4 separate regions of the Homo sapiens genome follow, and all the other regions are linked to region 2. Evidence: promoter capture Hi-C in 16 types of primary human blood cells and fetal thymus (Javierre and others, 2016). All regions are on one chromosome and are shown on one strand. The core of a region is centred on a gene start or on the middle of the fragment in contact, and the rest is flanking DNA. Distances in the headings are between cores, read along the strand shown. Region 1 overlaps CSNK1G3 (casein kinase 1 gamma 3). Region 2 holds the start of CSNK1G3 (casein kinase 1 gamma 3). Region 3 overlaps CEP120 (centrosomal protein 120). Region 4 overlaps CSNK1G3 (casein kinase 1 gamma 3).

The links. The method cuts DNA at HindIII sites, captures the fragments that hold promoters and counts their contacts. A CHiCAGO score of 5 or more calls a contact.
Region 1: a contact is called between a fragment that was not itself captured here and the fragment with the promoter of CSNK1G3 in region 2, in 1 of 17 cell types (activated CD4 T cells). The highest score is 6.1, in activated CD4 T cells.
Region 3: a fragment that was not itself captured here is called in contact with the fragment with the promoter of CSNK1G3 in region 2 in 3 of 17 cell types (activated CD4 T cells, naive CD8 T cells and non-activated CD4 T cells); the score reaches 7.7 in activated CD4 T cells.
Region 4: a fragment that was not itself captured here is called in contact with the fragment with the promoter of CSNK1G3 in region 2 in 1 of 17 cell types (total CD8 T cells); the score reaches 6.0 in total CD8 T cells.

The regions. Positions count from the first base shown.
Region 1 is chr5:123,611,056-123,613,987 of GRCh38, forward strand. The region is part of intron 13 of CSNK1G3 (casein kinase 1 gamma 3); the gene reads left to right. Among named protein-coding and RNA genes, the nearest start is that of CSNK1G3, 100 kb to the left of the region's middle. The HindIII fragment of the contact is 2,856 bases long and covers 1-2,754 here.
Region 2 is chr5:123,510,854-123,513,829 of GRCh38, forward strand. CSNK1G3 (casein kinase 1 gamma 3) reads left to right here and starts at 1,324. Exons shown (of 14, transcript NM_001364140.2): 1 at 1,324-1,717. RefSeq lists enhancers at 1,036-1,095, 1,256-1,465, 2,496-2,645 and silencers at 1,646-1,735, 1,906-1,975. The HindIII fragment of the contact is 13,359 bases long and covers 1-2,976 here.
Region 3 is chr5:123,389,318-123,392,101 of GRCh38, forward strand. CEP120 (centrosomal protein 120) reads right to left here. Exons shown (of 20, transcript NM_001375405.1): 7 at 1,793-2,020; 8 at 607-823. Among named protein-coding and RNA genes, the nearest start is that of CEP120, 33 kb to the right of the region's middle. The HindIII fragment of the contact is 956 bases long and covers 913-1,868 here.
Region 4 is chr5:123,591,628-123,594,713 of GRCh38, forward strand. All of the region lies in intron 10 of CSNK1G3 (casein kinase 1 gamma 3), which reads left to right. Among named protein-coding and RNA genes, the nearest start is that of CSNK1G3, 81 kb to the left of the region's middle. The HindIII fragment of the contact is 1,802 bases long and covers 363-2,164 here.

The sequences.
Region 1 (2,932 bases), core at 77-2,576, 100 kb after region 2:
TACATGGGAGCAGCACTGTTTCAGATTAAGTGCTGGGGAAGAGGAAGCAATTGAGATGAGACCTGATTTCTTAATCTCTAAGACTATAAATTAGCTGTTTCGGTAATTACTTTTATCTTAAGAAATAAGCCATAAGGTTAAAACATCAATTTACTTCCTAACTTCTGTAAGTATATCGTATTTTGAGAACCTCTCTCTTGTCTATTTGGATGCATTTGTATCACATAAGGCAATGCTGTCCTCTGGTGGTAGTAACTTTAATAGCATGCCAGCTTTACTTTTGCAAATCTTTATAAGGACGTTCTTTATTTAGTGGGAATTATTTAAAATAGATGTCCTTTTTAGATTGTGTTTGAATTTAAGGGCCATTAGAATTTATTTGAAAATCTTATTTAGTCTCAAATAAATGCTTGGCGTAGTTCAGTAAAACACTGTTGAAGGAAAGATTACTTAAGTGTAAAGAACTCAACTCTCAGAACTCAACTCTCAGAACTCTCAGTACTGGAAATACAAACTAAGCAAAGTAAATTGCTGATACAAGTGTAGAAAATTTGGGACTTTGTCTTGTTCATCAAAATGTGTATTACATTAAATTGCCCATTTCAAAGGGCTAATACAACTTTAGAAAATTTTGAAAGAATCTACTTTGGAATTTGAAAGGATAGTGTTTAAGAATAGTGAACATTATTAAAGGAATTTTATATCAAACAATAAATTTCCATTGAAATATGGCCATATTCTTAAATTTAATATTCTAAGTATTTGGTCTGTCACTTCTAAATACCTATTTTTATGTCTTGCTTTCTGCTATTTGGATATTTTTCTGCTCTTTTCTAAGTCTTAAATTTAAAGGTTCATTTGGAGTAAAGGATTTTATCTTTTAGAAAGTAATTGAGATTTGAGAAATATTAGGTAGCTGACAGTTAAAAATAAATTTGACTTATTTTTTTAAATCCAGATCAAATCTCTTACATGTGTAGTCTTGTTGTACTGTGGCAGCTCTTCTCTAGGCTCTTGACTGGGTAATCCATTTCAGTTCTTTCTGCTAGTCACCTCCATGAGAGTAAAGTTGATAAACATTCATCATTACATATATTTCTAGTTGAATCTTTATCAGCTGGTCCACAATTTTAAATTATTTACATTCCACGGTCTAGTCGGTGTTTACTGTTTGGTTTACTTAAAAAAATGCAGTTGTGTAATTTGGTTTGCAGTACCCTCATAGTAGTTTCATAATTATGGCAGAAATCACAATAAATAATTTAAAATTATTTTTGACTAAAGATAATGTGGGTAGAGAGATTATGTAATTTAACTGGACAGTGTAGATTTCTGTTTACATTTATTTCACAGAAGTATATAAAACATACCTAGTAGTTATTTTATATTCTGTAATCTTTTGCCGGGTGGGACACTTGAAGCTATTTTTTTTTTTTTTTTGGAACAGAGTCTCACTCTGTCGCCCAGGCTGGAGTGCAATGGCGCGACCTTGGCTCACTGCAACCTCCGCCTCCTGGGTTCAAGTGATTCTCCTGCCTCAGCCTCCTGAGTAGCTGGGATTACAGGTGCCTGTCACCACGCCTGGCTAATTTTTGTATTTTTAGTAGAGACAGGGTTTTACCATGTTGGTCAGGCTGGTCTTGAACTCCTGACCTTGTGATCTGCCCACCTTGGCCTCCCAAAGTGCTGGGATTACACGCATGAGCCACCCCTCCTGGCCAAAACTATTCTTCTATGAATATAGATTAGTAAGAATTATAGAAACATCTTTATAAGGGCATATTATACACAGTCTGAATTGGCAGCTCTCGATGATGAAATCACCATGTATATAAATATACTTTGCTTTTATTACAAAATATGATTTATAAACATGCCCACATACCCACAGAGGACTTCAGTGGAAACCAGGGATACTCAACCATGCTTGCCTGCGCCAAAAGTAAATTCAACCTTAGGAAGGGGTTGACTGTTTAAAGGTTAAAAGAAAAGGTGCCTAACTATATGTAGTGTCTGTCATGTTGTATATTTTAATAGACTCTTTTATGTCTGGAAGGGGAAAATGCCATACCTTCATGCCTTTATTTGAAGGATTGTGAGGCATTTAAGATAGATGTGTATTTAATTTTTTTCTTTTTTTTTTTTGGTGGGAGCAGATCAGTGATTTTTTCAGTTCATACCAGACCACAGCATTTTCCCACAGCAGCCTTGATGTGTTCATCTCCTCTTTTAGAGACAGGGTCTTGCCCTGTCACACAGACTGGGGTTCAGTGGCACAATCATAGATCAAACATTCCTCCTGCCTCAGCCTCTCAAGGAGATGGGGTAACAGGCGGGTGCCACCATGTCCAGTGCATGTGTGTGTGTGTGTGTGTGTGCGTATGTATGTATAATATAATATATGTGTGTACATTTATATATGTATGTGTGTATATATATATTTAGAGATATTTGTGTATGTGTATATGTAGTTAGAGAGAGAGAGATATTTAGAGATGGGGTCTTGCTGTATTGTCCAGGCTGGTCTTGAATTCTTAAACTCCTGAGCTCAAGCAATCCTCCTGCCTCGGCCTCTCAAAGTGCTGGGATTACAGGCATGAGCCACTGTGCCCAGCCAAGATTTTTTTTCACCTAGAAATAAAAGTCAGTATTATATTTTTTTGCATATACAGTTTTGACTTGTAAAATGGAATCACCTCAATTGTGCTACTTTAAATATTAAGCATAGTTTTTACCTTAACTAAACTTTCAATAAGCTTGACCTTCTTTAACCCTTAAAGAATTCAAAATTGCCAGTCTTGGTATTCTATATAATGTATTTTCTGTCTTTCACTTTTTTAATATGATGGAAAATGTTGACTAGTGTATATTGGAGTGTCTTTTTATTTTTGGAGTCTAAACTGATTATTGGTGAGAATAAACTCCCCAATGT
Region 2 (2,976 bases), core at 74-2,573:
GCTTTTGAGTCTCCTACAGAATGATGGTGTGGTAAGCATGGAGCAAAGCTCTTATCACTACCCTTCTAAGGCTGGTGATGCTAGTCACTTCTTAACTTCCAGTTTGGGGAAGAAGTGAGAAGAGAGGTTTAAAAAAAAGGCACTGTTGTATTACAAACCAAAATCAAAAACAGATTTCTATACTAACTACCCTTCCAAAGGTAACACATTAGCTATACCGTTAATCTAGCAAAGCAGGGAGGAAAATGAAGGAGTGCATTTGTTTCATTAGTCTTTTCGTTTTGAGAGGTAGACAGGAGAGATAGAGATACACAAGACTCAAGTTTCTTGATACAGTAAGTATATTAAGAATATAAACGGGTTTGATAAAATGAACATTTAAAAAACATGGCACCAGGCTGATTCTTCTTCCTGCACACCTTAATGCCTAACTTTTGAAAGGACTTGAGACATAAGAATCACAATTTTAAAAAATTATAGTTTCCATGCCTTCATGGTGGATCAATTTCCATAGAAGTCTACCAAAATGACTTATCTCCATCCCAGGGAAGCAACTGCAAGAGGGAAAATGAAAGGAATGCAGTCTTTCTATGTAGGCAGAGTGGACTTAAGTGTGAGTCAGAAACACCGATTTCAGTTTGTGCGCTGCAACTTGATAACTTGGGTGATGTTTGGCTTCTCAGAACTTTGGGAGGTGAATTTGAAAAACAGGTAATGCCACACTATATAGTTCAGAGGATTACCTCAGCTTACAAACAGCAAATGAGACGCAAATGTGAGCCATAATTCACATTTCTAAGCAGTTGGAGCCCTGATATGGCACTGGGGTTACAAACAAGCGGGGAAAAATGTCAACCCAGTGATGTCATACTCCTAGGCCGGGCCCTAAGATTTTTTTGGAACCTGGCGGGCTGAGCACAACAGGGAAAGCCTCAGCACCCTGACTTGGCACAATGGTACCCTTAAGGCTCTTTGCTCACTCAGTTCTTAGTAGCTCTCCTAAAGCATGGTGGTGTTCTCTTCCAGTTCTCTGCGTAGACTTTGCTATGCTTCTCCGCCCACTGCTTCATCCAGAGAAACACTCGTATCCACAGCCTCTCCCCACTTTCCCTCACGCACGGCTCTAGAAAGACGGGGATAGGGCGCGGCTTAGGCTTTATACACCTTGCCAGCCAATGACCGCGCCGTCTCCTTTCCGGTCGGCGATCCGACCAATCCAAGAAGGTTGGTGCAATCTTCGGCTCTACTCGGCTGTTTTCGCTGATGCGGGCAGCTTGGGGGCCGCCGCCGCTAAACAGACGCTTTCCTTTTTAATTTTTTTTCCATGTGTTCACTTCCGGGTCCGGCGTCGATCCGGATGCCCGAGGCAGAAGGATGTTTGACCTCCGGATAAGCGAGGCGCTGCTGTGCATTCATTCCGGGCTGCATCGGTGGCGACAGCAGAGGCTCGGGCGGCGACTCTCCGGCCAGCGGCGGCGGTAGGAGGCACCAGCGGCAGTGCAGGGACCGAATCCGAGCAGCGCTGCGTTACCTCTCTCTCTCGCTCCTTCCCCCCTACCTCGCTCGCTCGCTCGCTCGCTCCCTGCGTGGCTCGCTTTCCTCCTCCGGCCGCCGGCGGGTGTGATGTGCCGCCGCCGCTGCCCCCGCCGGCGCTGACGGACTGGGGGCGCCGCCCGCGCCCGGGACCGACCCCTCTGCTCGCGGCCGCGCCTTTGAGGTAAAGCCCCCTGCGCGTAGGTGCTCCGCTGCCAGCCCCGGCCCGGCGGCTGCCTCGGCGCGGCCGCGGCGCCCTCCCTCCCGGGTGGGGCTGGGGTCCCGGGCGGGTGGGGTGGGGTGCGGCGGGGGCGGCGCCGCAGGCGCGGGTGTCGGGGGAGGGGTGGGCGAGGACCATGGCGGGTGGCCCGGAGGCGTGGGCAGGAGGGGGCCGCGGTCGGAGGCTGAGGGCGCGGAGGGCTAGGGGGCAGCGGGGGCCGCGGGTGGCGGGTCGGGCTGGGTGCAAAAGTTGCCGGAGTGGTGCGGCGCGACTGGGGCGGCGAGGGAGGTGGGCCAACTGGGCCGGCGGGGGCTTCCTTAGGAGAGATTGGGAGGTGGGGAGTGTCGCCCACGGTGCTCCTTGACTGTGTCCAGACAATTACCTTTGGAGTAGGGGCTTCAGGCAGGAAGGAGGCATGGATAGGCTGGGAGGAGGCGACGGGGGCCAGCGTTCAGCTCAGGGATAAACTTCCCGTTGGAGTGTTTAAGGGGTTGGGTGGGGGGACACAGGGATTTACCTGTTTCTTAGAGCTTTGACTCAGCTCAAAACTTAACCAAGACATTAGTCAAAGGTTAGCAAAATCACTCTGATGGTTACTCTCATGGTGCCGGTTTGTTTGTTTATCCCACATGCAGGGGAAGTGACACTGAGAAGCATCGGGTCTCTTGGTCCACAGCCTCCACATTTCTTTTCAGCAGGATGAGGAGGGAGATGTGTGTCTACTCGTGGGGTGGGGGTAGTGAGGCCTGTGTCATGGTCATTCCCCTTCTCCCACCTCATGTTTTAGGGAGGAAAAGTTCAGATGGGGGAGAGAGTGAGTGTGCCTGTGTGTGTGGGAGACAGCTACTGTTGATACACTGTGTGAATTACTTTCAACTCTTTTGTAGTAAGCACCCAGGCTGGTCAGTGGCTCCTTTTAAATCTTCTATTAAAATATTTACTTTAAATTAGAGAATTAAAAATGTACTTATTTTTAATGAATTAAGAAAATAAGTCATTATTTTACTTTTTGCAATTACTTAGTCCGATTCAAATGACATTTGGCCACAGATATGAGAGATGGCAAACTATATCTAAGATGGGATATAAAATGAAAAGTATATACTTTTTAAAGATGTTTCTTTTTAAAGATGTTTCTTTGAAGAATATTGGCTTTCCCGGTAAATTTAGAAGAAAAACATTACAGAAATTGTGAGAATAATGTGGAATTAGATGTGAAACTA
Region 3 (2,784 bases), core at 141-2,640, 120 kb before region 2:
TTTAAGAATCTAATCATTTAAAAAATCTACTTGCAAAAACTATATTATTTAATGTCTATTGAATAGGATATTTCCAGTGTACAAGTAAAATAAAAAATTCTGTTAATTTAGAGAATTATATTTTGAAGTTAGATAGATTGCAATGACTTTGCATTGAAATTTTTTATATTTCCACACATTACTGTTTTGTTTTTTGTTTTGAGACGGAGTTCCGCTCTTGTTGCCCAGGCTGGAGTGCAATGGCGCGATCTTGGCTCACCACAACCTCCACCTCCTGGGTTCAAGCAATTCTCCTGCCTCAGCCTCCCGAGTAGCTGGGATTACAGGCATGCACCACCACGCCTGGCTAATTTTGTATTTTTAGTAGAGACGGGATTTCTCTACCTTGGTCAGGCTGGTCTCGAATGCCCAACCTCAGGTGATCCACCTGCCTCGGTCTTCCAAAGTGCTGGGATTACAGGCGTGAGCCACCGTGCCCAGCCTTATTGGTTCTTAACAAACCCACAATTTTTACTTATAACTCATGAAAGTTCTCATAGTCATTTTTTAGATGGCTGCAAAATGCAATACCTCAAAGATCTATAAACAAACAACAAAAAACCTTACCTTTTGGATTTGGTTTGGTGTCCTTATCATACTGTAAACTTTCCACTTCACTTTCTGTTGCATCATCTTTTGTTGGAGGTGACTGGTTGTGAGATGGAACAGGGGACACTGTTGGTGATTTTGGCCCAGTAAGTGTCTTCTCCTTTATGGGGGTTAAAACTTTCTTCTTTGAATGCTCTGGCTCATGTTCATTCTGGGTCTTTAATTCAATTAAAGACTAAAAACAATTTTTAAATAAAGTATAATTTGCAAAGAACTTTCCTTCATAATTAAGCAAAAAACTTGGCATTGTTTTTTAAAAATATAAGCTTCCTTTCCCAGTTTGGATATTCCTAGTCTATTTTTCTTCGTAATTTGCAAATTTCCTTATAGCATCTAGGACCAGAAAAAGGAAGATGAACAGAGGAAATATGATATCCAGAGCTGAATACCAAAATGCATCCTAATGGGTAAGAAGGGATATTTGAGAAAAGAAGTCAGGCATAGGTGTCCCCGGGAATGGTTATTCCTACCAAGGCAGTACAATGGAGAACTATACTCCTAAAGAGAAAAAACACATGTCTAGTATGACTTTCCTTCTCTCCTTTATTCCACTCCCCACTAAAAATATATGTATATGTATCTTTTAAACACTCATTTCGGTTCTTCTATCTTTAATTCACAACCTGCATAAAGATCAGCTTTTTGAAAGAACAAGATAAAGTTGATTTCTGGGAATAGATACAATAAAAAAAATACACGGCCAAATAAATGATCATCTGTGTCATGAAAACTGACTAAAGAGAGTATGAGGACTACAAAGCACTAAGGAACCAAGGATTTTATTTTGGCTCAGGTTGCATTAACCAAAAAGATATCAGTAATGCAGATTCCCAGAAACTAGGTCTAAAAATGTTCTCTTTCACTGGAGTTCCTTTTCTGGAGTTGGGGGTGGGGGAGACCATAAGTGGGTTTCCACTACACAAAAAGACTGTCTCAAAGGCTAAGAGGGCTCTGGGTAGAATCACTTATAAACCATAACAGAAGTCACAGCACTTTTCAGAAAGGAGGTATCATATAACAAAGGTCACTAATTAAGATTAATAAATATATCCTTATGAAGGTAACTCTTCTGAAATTCAACTTTTGTAAGTAATCATGCATGGGACTAGTGAAGCCAGGGGAATGAAGGAGGGCCACTACTTGCCTGGGAGTCTATGCCTTCTCTCTGCAGAGCCACAGACACTCCCACAGTTGGGGCTAGCTCCACAGGAATAGGTGCAAGCTTCTGTTTGGCTCTGTTTGGAGGGTCAAGGGTAAAAGCACCTTCGACTGTGACTGGGTGCTGGTTGATTTCTGTACTGCCCTTTTTAAGTAATCCAGTTAAAGGTATTTCTGTACTTCCAAGTGACTGGTCTCCACAGCAGAGGTGAATCTAATATGAAAGGGAAAAATCAAAATAGGGCTTTATACTTTCTCCTTTCTCCTAAATATCATAAACTTAATAAGAAGTTGTAAAATGATGCATGGAAAGAAAATATTATGCAGGTTATACCTCATTGACCTCAAGTGACGAAGTAATGAATTCTCACACATAACTGTTAAAACTGGTGATAAAACACAAAGTTTACTAAAAACTCAATAATAGCTATTACCTTTTTCATTTCTTCTTTCGGTATTACATAATCATATGTTATTGCTTCTTTTTCTGTCTCTTTGGTGAGCTACTTTAATATTTTACTATAACAAAATTAATGCATGAATTTAAACAAAAAAAACAAAGAAATACCTCAACATTTTTCTTTTTCCATTTTACCATTAATTTAAACACAGTTTCAAAAAATAAGTCAGTGGATCAATCCTGATTTGGAATTTAAAAACCTCAAATAGTTTTGTTTTTTTCACCCATAAGATATCTTGAATATTTCTCTTTTCTTGCTTTTCAGACCTCATATTAAAAAGAGTGCTTAACAGTAAGTAAAAGAATATCTCTGGAGTGGAGTATACTGTTAATCACTGATAGCTAATTAAAAATTCAATATTATCACCTTTTGACAAGTACAAAAAAAAAGACTCTTCCAGATAAATGTTATATAACTTGTTTTCCCTTACTATATTGAAGCCTTAGCAAACTTAGTATTTGAATGAATAATAAATAAGCAATCATGCTGTAAAATATATTTAGCTCTAATATCATCA
Region 4 (3,086 bases), core at 14-2,513, 81 kb after region 2:
GGAATATGTGATATTCTGTTAGAATGGAAGTATTTGGATACCCTATTAGAATGAATTGTAATAACACTTGGACTTTCTAACTGTAGTTTAGTTCAATAAATTATTTATTGAATTTCTGCTATTGTAAAGCTACTGTTCTACACATTATAGAAATTCAGAAGTAAAGAAGACTGTATAACCTTTAAGAATGATTTTGTCACCAGTGTCTAAAAGCAGTGTTGTAGCTAAGAGTTCACTCAATTCTTTAGAATCAGGCATACATGGATATGGCTTGACCCTGGGCAAATAAGTTAATCTGTCAAAGCCTCAGTTTCCTCATCTATAAAATGGAAATAATGCATGTTAATTTAGAGCATACAGTAAGCTTTGAATCAAAACTCTTGTGTCTGCTGTTACTGTTATTATTATTACAATAAATACAGAAATAGCTATATTTAAAAAGAGAATAAGCTATATTACATGAAACACTAATAAAGTAGCATGGAGATCATATGTGGGGCTCTATGAAGATTTTATGGAAAAGGTAGCTTTTGACATGAACCTAAAGAATGAATGGAGTTTTTAAAGGGAAATGAAGATAAGGGCATTTTGGGGAGAGTGAATAATATAAAATATGAAGCAGAAGTTTAAAAATAGAGAATTTGAGGAATAGCAAGCGGTTCAAATTTGTTTGGAGCAGGAGGTAGGTAGAGATGGATTAGAGAGGGAGTAGAGAGTCAGTCTGAGATAAGGCATAGAAGTTGATCAAGTAGCGAGTTCATGTTTCCTGGCCAGGTAAAGGAATAGAAAGCTGTTGAAATTTTTGGGCAATGTTTTAATTTTTCTCTCTCTCTTTCTCTTTTTTTTGGTAAAAAAGTTTTATCGAAGACATCTTTGACTTAAAAATTTCACTATCACACTGAGTTAAGGAGTGTCTAGAAATTTTCTCTTACAATCCATTTTGGAGAAGGATAGTATGCCGTCCTTTTTGACTTTTATATTGTTTATCCCATCAAAGTTTAAGTGAAGATTAAAGATTAAAACAGGATGACAATCAAAAGAAAGAACACCACTTGTTAAAAATCATAGCAAAATAAAATGCTACATTTTAGGGAGTGTTTAACAATATTATGCTATATATATATATATAGCATGGCCAGTTTTAAAAGATTAATATTAAATTTTTGACTTAGAAAAATTGGTACTATAAAGCATCTCATACATAAATTACTTCATATATAAATTAAAATTAGTTGATAGCTGGAGTGCTGTGAAAAGATTCTGTATAAAGAAAGAAATGGCTCAGAAGTTGAGACTTAGTTTGTGTTTTATAAACCAGAGTTAATTCCTTGAATGTACTTGGAAGAAGATTAATACGGTATTCTTTGAAATTCTCCACTTGAGCTGTTAGGTATTATAATAAGTGAAATTCCTCTATTGTTGAATTAAATTATAAATCTAATGTTTTAGACTTTTAGTTTTCTACATCTTTCAGACATGTCTTGCTAACTAGAGTATAAGCTCACTGAGGGTAGGAACCATGTTTCATTTGTCCAGTCCTTGCACTAAATGTAGGGTGGGTGTGTGTGTATATATACACACACACACACACACACACACACATATATATAATATTTAGGCAATTCTTTAGGATAGGCTTATATATTGAATTTGGGATGTGAATATACACACTTTCATCATGATAGAAAAGTTGTATATTTAAAAAAAACTTCTTAAATATCTCTAGACCACTAAGCAGCTTAAGTTCTACAAGAAACCCACAGTTCACAATCCCAGAGGAAGATAGATTATGTCACGTGACTTAAACCTTTGTAATGCCCCTAGATAAATGAGTTAAGTTGAGGGGATCCTGAAATTGTTGGGTACATGTAATTGTTTATTTTCAGGAGAGGGCGTGTAGCTCTTACTATATTCTTAGAGAGTTCCATGACCCCAAAATATTGCGCATTGCCCTAGATGTTTGTCTCAATTTTAGCATCATTTTTATTCTTTGATCTTGTCTAGACTTGACTTCATCTGATTTGATTTCAACTTAAGCTACAAATCTGCTTAATTCTGGTTATGGATTTGGAGGGTTTAACGAAAAGACATTATAGAACTGTCATAGTTTTGATGACATACTTTATGCCACAGAGTATGTAATTTTGCATTGTACAATTTAGGAAGCTTAGTGCCAGAACATGTATTCATGTGTCTACTTGAATTTTACATCTCTCCCCTTAAGGTTGTTCTGGCCAACAATATGCTTGAGGCTCCCCATACTCCAATATGCTTGGCACTTTGTGGCAAGATTTTCATGACTTTGTTTGAAAAAGAAAGAAAAGAGTACTGAAGGCTTTAGAATATATTTAATTTTCGTAAGGAGCTAGGTAGTATTATTGGAAGAGCATTATGCTCTGAGTTGGAATTCCTGTTGTACTCCTTGGTAGGTCTGTAACTGTGGGGAAGTGGTTAATGTCTCACTGTCTTCATCAGTAAAAGTGGATGATAATATCTACCTCAAAATATGGTAATATATAAAGCAGCTAATTCAGAACCAAACATGTAATAAAGTTTAAATAGTATATTCTTCTCCCTACTTTTTATTAGTGTTGTCCACATTTTCCTGAAACAGAAGTTGTCCCCTATTAAGAAACTTCTCTTAATTTTACTGGTAGATTATGATGTTTGTTATTGCCATGCATATTTGCCAAGGGATCTAAAAACATCAAGAATTTTCAGATTATTTCATAGACATGGGTTCCTTAATTTGAACCAGATAAAAGGAGATCAAGGAAGCAGAGAGATTCATATATGTAGGATTATCACTTAGAAAAAAAATTGTTTTGTCATATTCTCATAGTATTCTGTATAGTGCTTCTCCCTTTTCAAAGAACTTTTCTGTTTTCTCATATTATCCTTAGAATCAGAAATGGGGGACTAAGCAAGAGAGAAAATATTTTTAGAATCTCAGGTACAGTTATTTAAGGGCCATCATTTGTACCTTGCTAAAAATAGCTCCTCATCAGAAAACCAGTGATGACATCTACTGTGTAAAAATATAGTGGGTGGACTTCTAGTGTGCCCAGGATTTATTTGGAGTTCTT